Regions from separate parts of the Homo sapiens genome. Here region 2 is linked to region 1. Evidence: promoter capture Hi-C in 16 types of primary human blood cells and fetal thymus (Javierre and others, 2016). All regions are on one chromosome and are shown on one strand. Each heading gives the region's core, a stretch centred on a gene start or on the middle of the fragment in contact. The rest is flanking DNA. Distances are from core to core; before and after follow the strand shown.

The links. The method cuts DNA at HindIII sites, captures the fragments that hold promoters and counts their contacts. A CHiCAGO score of 5 or more calls a contact.
Region 2: a fragment that was not itself captured here is called in contact with the fragment with the promoter of NPR2 in region 1 in 1 of 17 cell types (activated CD4 T cells); the score reaches 5.0 in activated CD4 T cells.

What each region holds. Positions count from the first base shown.
Region 1 is chr9:35,789,142-35,792,840 of GRCh38, reverse strand. NPR2 (natriuretic peptide receptor 2) reads right to left here and starts at 1,250. Exons shown (of 22, transcript NM_003995.4): 1 at 1-1,250. The coding sequence starts at 432. It also overlaps a transcript of RGP1 not described here. The HindIII fragment of the contact is 14,834 bases long and covers 1-3,699 here.
Region 2 is chr9:36,019,984-36,024,294 of GRCh38, reverse strand. It overlaps the pseudogene OR2AM1P. Among named protein-coding and RNA genes, the nearest start is that of RECK, 15 kb to the left of the region's middle. The HindIII fragment of the contact is 916 bases long and covers 2,002-2,917 here.

The sequences.
Region 1 (3,699 bases), core at 1-2,500:
GGGGCCAGTGCGAACCAGGGTACGATAATGGTCATTCTTAGCCGAAAAACCAGAGGCCACAGCACCCGCAGTCAGCAGGGGAAGGCGCCAGTGGGAGGCAAAGCGGGCCACAGAGGCAGCAGGGTACACGCAACCGGGACCTAACAGCAGGTCGGGGTCATGGTACAGCTTGAGGTCCACAGCGCTCAGCGGTGCCAGGTACTCAGAGCAGGCGCCTTCCAGTTCGGAGCTGACAAACCGCAGGTCCACGGGCAGTGCCCGGCCCAGAGCCTCCACAGCTAGTGCCACAGCGGGTCCCACCCGTGGCCAGGCCCAGGCATAGCTCAGGTTGTGTTCTGGCAGCACCACCGCCAGCGTCAGGTTCCGCGCCCCGGGAGGACGCACCCCACCTGCCAGGGCTGCCACCAACAGCAGAAGTGATGGCAGCGCCATGGGGATAAAGCAGCAGCCCCACCGCCCCCAGAACTTGGGGCTGCTCTGGCCTACAGGGGAGACGCGAGCACCCCCCAGCCTGGAGCCTGGGGAAGAGGGCCAGGAAGAGGAGGAGTAGGCTAGGTAGGCTGGGATGCAGAAGGTGCTGGGGGCCGGGGAGAGGAGGGGGAGATGGGAGGAAGGCGGGGGGCGGGCAAGGAGTGGGCTACCAGCCTAGGGCAAGGACTGAGGACTGAGAACGGGGTGGCAGGGGGAGGGAGGGACCGAGGGGGCCTGCGGCCAGGATGGGGACAGTGCGAGGTGAAGAAGCCTGATAAATCTAAAGCTGAGAAGGAAAAGGGGATCTGGGACTGGGATGGGGTGGGGGTGGGGGGCGGGTGGTACAAAGAAACGGCCTGGGGGAACCTCACAGCTGAAAGGGCCGGGAGGGCAGGAGGGCGCTGCGCCACATAGGACCAAGGGGGTAAGGTGGGAGGGTGCCCGCGCCGCGGAAGGACTGGGATCATGGGCAGGCGGGGAGCGAAGCGAGGCCTGGGCCGGAGGGCAGGGGAAGGCAGGGGTAAATCTCCCTGTGAAGGATTCTCCCGGAGCTCCTGCTTGGACTAACGGGCCCGGGCGCTGGTCCCATCCGGAGCTACGGCGGCCCCGCCCGTGTCCCCGCTCCTCTCTGCTCCGCTTCTCCTGGGCCCTGGCGGCCGGCGCTGCCCGGCGCTTCCTCCCGCCCCCCGCCTGGGCCCCGCGCGCGCCGCTCGTCCGGGTCAGGTCGCCTCGGCCCGGCCCGTCTCCGCTCGCTGCGCCGGCGGCCGAGTGCGACTCCCCCGGGCAGGCCGCCCGCCCCCGCCCCTCCCCCGCTGCCTCTCCTCCTCCCTCCCGGCCCCACCCTCCGGCGCCGGCTGCCTTCCCCCACCCCCCACCCGGGCGCTCGGGACCGCCAGGTCCCAAACCCACCCCGGTGAGCACTTGGGGGCTCCGCACCAAGGCCTCGCCGGCCAGCAGGGTTCCCGGGCGCTCCCTCACTCTCAGGGCCTACCCTGGTCTCCCCCACGCCCCTGGTCCCCCTGCCGCCCCTCCTTCCATTTCCATCTCACACACGCCAGCGACCCCAGGGTTTGTCCTCTCCCCCTCGCTCAGCCCGTTCTTCTTGGGTCTCCCCTCTGAACTCCCTGAGTCCCTCAGTGGTTCCAGTCTCCAGGAAGCAGTCGAGGATCCCCAGACGTGTGGTATCCTCACCAGCCCCCTCACCTAGCAAACCATAGCGCCCTCCCGACGGCAGTGCGGCTTACTCCACCGCGGACCATGCCCGCTCCCTGGACGGGCCCCTCCAGCAGCCAGGGGCCCCTGCTGTACACTTCCCACCAGTCCTTAGAAAGTCCACGAGGCTCCTTCTTGCTTGGGACTCAACTCTCGGCCCCCCGCTGTCTCCATGCCCCCTGCCCTCCTCGTGTCCTCAGAGGCCCACCGCAGCCCGCCCGGCTTCCTCCGCACCATCTGCTCAGTCAGGGCCTCGATTTTCTTTTGTCTCCTGCACAGCGCAGGCTGGCGCCTGGGGAAAGCCTGTAACGGACCGGCGGGACACTCCCCGCAGTGGAAGCCCATCCACGCTCTCCTGGGGTTCCACCTTGCTCCCAGCTTCCCTTAGGAAGCTCTCCCTAGGGCCCTCATATCTGGAGTGCCAATCTGACCCCAAGAACAGCTTGTGAGGGATGATCTCATGGTGGCTGAGAGGGACTGCTATGGGACCTTGGGGATTTTTCTCCAACTGTCATAAAGGACATGCACATAAGCCCATTCTCTGCCCGCGCTAAGAGCCACGGTTTCTCTCCCCCCTTCAAGCTATTTCTCCAGAAATCACAAGCTAAGAGCGCTCCTGGAGCCCTGGAGTGGGGTGGGAGTGTATAGGGCGAGGACGGGCATGGTTTCCCTGAGATGAAGGCGACACCTAGTGGTTTGGTGGGGGAAATTAAGGACAATGCCACTTTATCCTTAGGCACGATATTTATTGAACACCGGCTGCCTAGCACAAGCTGTACCTGTGAATACAAAGAAAGCCGAATGATACAGCCCTTACCTTTGAGGAACATGCATTTGCAATCCCTGGGGCACAGAGGCCAAGAGCAGGCCGTCCCTAACAATGTTCTTGCCTCAAGCCCAGTAGAGATGGAAGCCTCAGGACAGCTCCTTCTTTAACGCAGAGGGGTTGGTAACTCTAGTTCCAGGCTCCCAATACTGCAGTGAAAAGGAATTTTGTCCTATCTGGCCAAGGCAAAAAAAAAAAAAAGGAACAGTCAAAAGAATGACGAGACAACATGAGAAATACTTTAGACCAAGTCAACCAAATAGAATAGTTGATTTTTAAGCAACTACACATTGTTTTATGAGACAAGCAAATCCAAAATGACAAAATTCCTGAAAGAATTACAGAATGGCAGGGCTAAGAGGATCATATAAATATATTGTTTAGCCCTCTCATTTAAAGATAATTGAAAACCAAATCCCAGAGAGGAAGGTCGCAGTGTCCTTACTTGCTCCTCTCCCCCAATCCCACATGGCTTTTTAGTTGCAAAAGAGAGATTAAAATGCAGGTTTCATGGTCTCCAAGGAGAGGCTCTTTATAGATATTTTGCTGACTCATGGAACTTACTGTAGAAAGCTGTGCTTACAATATAATAGCCACCAAACCCAGGCAAGTCTCTCTGGAACACCTGCAGCCCTCAGTGAGGATCAGCCACCACTGTCACCCAGACTCCTACGCAAGTACAAGTGCATCATATGTCATTATTCTGAACATTAAGGACTATTCTTCATTATGTTAGGGATTAAACATTCAAGCATCTTGCCTTTCCCTTTTCCTCCCAGTTGGCCAGTTAACTAGAAAGTAGGAAGGGGCCAGGCACGGTGGCTCTTGCCTGTAATGCCTATAATCTCTATTAAAAACCAAACAAATCAATCAGATATGGTGGCACGAACCTGTGGTCCCAGCTACTTGGGAGGCTGAGGTGGGGGGATCGCTTGATCCCAGAGGATAGAGGCAGCCTGGGTGACAGCAAGACCCTGTCTCAAAAAAAAAAAAAAAAAAAAAGGAAGTGGAAGGAGCCTGGTGCAGTGGCTCACGCCTGTAATCCCAGCACTTTAGGAGGCCAAGGTAGGAGGATTGTTTGAGGTCAGGAGTTCGAGACTAGGCTGGCCAACAAGGTGAAATCTCGTCTCTACTAAAAACACAAAAATTAGCTGGGCGTGGTGGTGGGCACCTGTAATCCCAGCTACTTG
Region 2 (4,311 bases), core at 1,210-3,709, 230 kb before region 1:
TTCTAGGGAGTCTTTGTTCATCTCCATGAATTAATGAAACTATTGATTGAATAGGGGGAGCAAATGGGCAACTTGATTTTGGGAATATAAAACCACACTGGTCAAGGGTATCTCTTCTGGCAGCATGAACAATTAGATTCTCTGAGTATTCTCGTCTTGCTGAGTGTGAAACACAACTGAGCATGCTGAATAAAATGTAAAAACATTTTTTTAAAAGGTACTGATGAGCTTTCCAGAAACTAAGGGATACTCAAAGGCCAAAAATTAAGTGAAATCTGCAACCCAGAGACTTAAAAGCATTGACATTTTAGGCTTTTGCTATGAGGGAATTTGCCGGGCTGATGAACACCTCACAGGCTTGCTGATGCCCAAGGGCTTGGCTCACAGTAGGAGACTTGCGCGAGGACGTCTTCCTACCCTGCCTCTTCCTTCAGCCCTCCTGCCCTGGTCCCACATCTTCTAGGGCTTTGCTCCTCAAAGCGTGGCCTGCAGAGTTCAGCAGCATAGACATTACCTGGAAATCTGTTAGAGATGTAGAATGTCAGACCCTACCTCAGACTCACCGAATCCTTATCCACATTCTCAGATAACTCATGAAAACATTCAAGTTTGAGAAGCACCTATCTCAGGAGCTTGCAGAAATTTCAATTGTCAGCTTCAGCAATGTCCACCAGGTGGCAGGTTTGCAGCAGGCACAGGTAGCTAGAGCTGCAACCAGCCACCCAATTCTGTAAGTGGCACTGGAAGTTAGGAACAATTGCTCACGAACTGTGGAGGGAATGAATGGAGGGGCGACCCCAGAGGAGACCCCTAATCAAAGAGTGGCGGGTGGTGGGGTGCGAGCCATGAGTTCCCCCTCTCTGGCAGTCCCCAGTTGTATTGGCTAGTGACAGGGACGGGCTATACGCTCTCATTTTACAGACAAAGAAATCAAGGCCCAGAGAAGGAAGGAGACTTAGCCAAGTGCTCAGCAGCGGGAAATAGTGTTAGGGCTGGACTTGGAAGGCAGGTGTCAGGCTGCCTGGCCTGGGCTGAAAGCACTCTGTGGTCTATGCTGACCTGAGCGGCTGCCTCTCCACTCCCTCCCCTCAGATGCTCTTTGAACAGCTATCTTGTTTTCTCTGGAAGTGCTAGAAGCTGCTGTTATAATAATTCAATTCGGATGGCCAGTGGTATTTCCACATGATATAGTTTGGATACTTTCCTCACCCAAAACTCATATTGAATTGTAATCCCCAGTGCTGGAGCTGGGGCCTGGTGGGAGGTGTTTGGATCACGGGCAGATTCCTCATGGCTTGGTGCTGTCTTTGTGATAGTGAGTTCTCCCAAGATTCAGTTGTTGTAAAGTGTGGCACCTCCTGCCTGCTCTCTCTCTCTTTCTCTCTCTTTATCTTTCTCTCTCTTTCACTCACTCCTGCTTTGGCCATGTGAAGTGCCTGCTCCCACTTCACCTTCTGCCATGAGTAAAAGATCCCTGAGGCCTCCCCAGAAGTTAAGCAGATGCTGGAGCCATGTTTGTATAGTCTGCAGAACCATGAGCCAGTTAAACTTCTTTTCTTTATAAATTACCCAGTCTCAGGTATTTCTTTATAGCAGTACAAGAATGGCCTAATACACCACAATACTCAAGGTCCTGTGGCTAGAATCACTGCCTTGGAAGGTCAACTTTGAAAGGACCTCAAAGCCATGCAGTCTAAAACTAGCTTCTAGCAGGGGAGAGAAACAGCTAAGGTCCACGGAGGGGCTCCGACGGCCAGCCCCCACCCCAACCCCCACTGCCATGTCTTGTCATTAGTTCATTTGGGTTTTTTGTTTGCTTTTTTGTTGCTTTGTTTCTTTGGTTGCAATTATGCCTACTCTCATGTCAGAAAGGATTTGTGGTAACCCAAAAATGTATTCAAGGCCAAAAAATTAAAAATAGATAGGTAAGGAAATGGGGCAATGGGAAATTAAAAGTAGAAATGTGGGGGCACTTTCCCTCTAGGTCCTTTGATAGAAGCTTCCATTACTTGTGACACAACAGGGGACACTCAGTTTACTTGTTCGTCCTAGTCCCATGGTTCATGGCCTGGACCTTGGGAAAGTCCCTTCTTTCCTCTGAGTTATCATTTCCCCATGAGCACAGTGAGGTGCTTAGAGATCATATGTTCTGGCCACCTGGGATTCTGACAGTCTGTCATTCAGTTAGGGGTTTCTGAAATACCAGGTTCTTCACAGCAGCCTTCACACCCTTTTTCCTCAGGCTGTAGATGATGGTGTTCAGCATGGGGGTGACCACTCCATAGGAGAGGGAGATGAGTTTGTCTGCAAAATCCTGCTTGTCTGCCCCCAGTGGGTCCTTCGACTTGGGCTTCCCATGCGTGAAGAGGATGGTCCTGTAGAAGATGACCACAACTGTGAGGTGGGCAGAGCAGGTGGAGAAGGCCTTTTGCCTGATCATGTTGATAGAGATGTCAGCACAGGCCAACTTCAGGACAGCCAGGACCTCACAGGTCAAGTGGTTGATGATGTCCCCATAGAAGGGCAGGTGACTGATGACATTTAGTCTCTTCCCTTCCCTTAGGGCAGATGGGCCAAGAACTCCTCTGCTCTGGTGATATCAGCCAGGAGTCAGTCCCAGGTACCCTGTAACTCCAGTGCCAAGACTTTAAACTTTTACTGACCTTTAAGTAAATTTCACTTCACCAGTGAGCCTCTATGACTGGATAGCAAGGGGCCTCCTGCACGTTTTGGCCAAGTTGAAGTTCAGTTATCTCTGAACTTCCCTCCTCCTCATTCCCCATCAGCTCTCACGAAAGACACTGACTTGCTTCTGAGGCTGGTCCTGAGATTTCCCTTGCTTTTTTCAGGGAACTAAAAATCTCTCTTTCGGATTTCTAGGTGCTCACATGTGATTTATCCTGGGTCATCATAAGCTTGTTGACAATCCAGAGGTTTTGCAGTTGGCTTTATTTTACCCTGTGCTTGAAAACCATACAAACTCTGTAGAAATCCATCTCCTCCGAGCTCTGCTTTGTGATCTGACCCCTTCCCAGGTTGCTACAGGAGCACTTCCAGCAAGGAGCTGTGAGACTGTCCTGTACCTGTGCAAGCACACAGTGTCTGTGCCGTGGCCGTTTGGCTCAAGTCAAGAGATGGCTACTGAGCACACCTTCTGTGCCAGGCCTGATTCTCAGTGCTGGGTACTCAGAGATGAAAATCAAAGTTTCTACTTTAAAGAGCTCAATATTTAGGAGAAGACAGACATGCTAAAAAATCAGTGCAAGGGCTATAACAGCAACAGCAGCTGTAGAAGCAGTGGTAGGAGCTATTATCAATTGAATATAAATTTTGTACTAGGAGGCCAGATGCGGTGACTCCCCTTTGTAATCCCAGCACTTTGGGAGGCTGAGGCAGGCGGATTGCTTGAGCTCAGGAGTTCAAAACCAGCTTGGGCAACACAATGAGACCCCATCTCTACAAAATTTTTTTTTTTAGAAAATAGCTGGGTTTGGGGGCATGCACCAGTAGTCCCAGCTATAATCAAGCAGCTTAGCAGCTAAGCCTCAAAATGCATTTTATAACTCTTTTTCCTTTCCCCTTTCTTCCTCCTCCCACCCCCAGTCTCAAGATATAACTTTGAGACAGACTGCTTATGTGTTACCTTTCATCTTGAAATACAGCCTCAGAATGGGCTGTGAACCTCCACTCCCTTTCTTTTCCCATTCTGTGCTCCCATGCCTTATGCACATTTATTTACCTAGATGCTTGTTAAGCACACACCATGCTCACTTATCTGGTCATATGCTTCCTTTGATGCTTCAGAGGTCAGATCCTGATAGGGACCAGACACCTCCAGAATTCTCTGTCCAACAAAAGGTTACCTCAGGGCTGGAACCCACTCTCAGCTGAAGAGTGAACACAAGGTTGACTGTGATTAATTTATAACCTGGTAGGATCCACAATGGCACCAGCCCCTTCACCAAATGGAACAATAATTCAAGATGAGCCATCGGACTGTCATAGCACCTGGCATCTCCTAGCCCCACTTGCCTTTTCCACATTCCAAAATGCCTTCTTTAAAAACCCTTGCATTCCCAGCCAGGCACGGTGGCTCACGCCTGTAATCCCAGCACTTCGGGAGGCCGAGGCAGGCAGATCACGAGGTCAGGAGATTGAGACCATCCTGGCTAACACAGTGAAACCCCGTTTATACTAAAAATACAAAAAAATTAGGCAGGTGCAGTGGCAGGTGCCTGTATCCCACCTACTTGGGAGACTGAGGCAGGAGAATGGCGTGAACCCAGGAGGTGGAGCTTGTAGTGAGCGAGA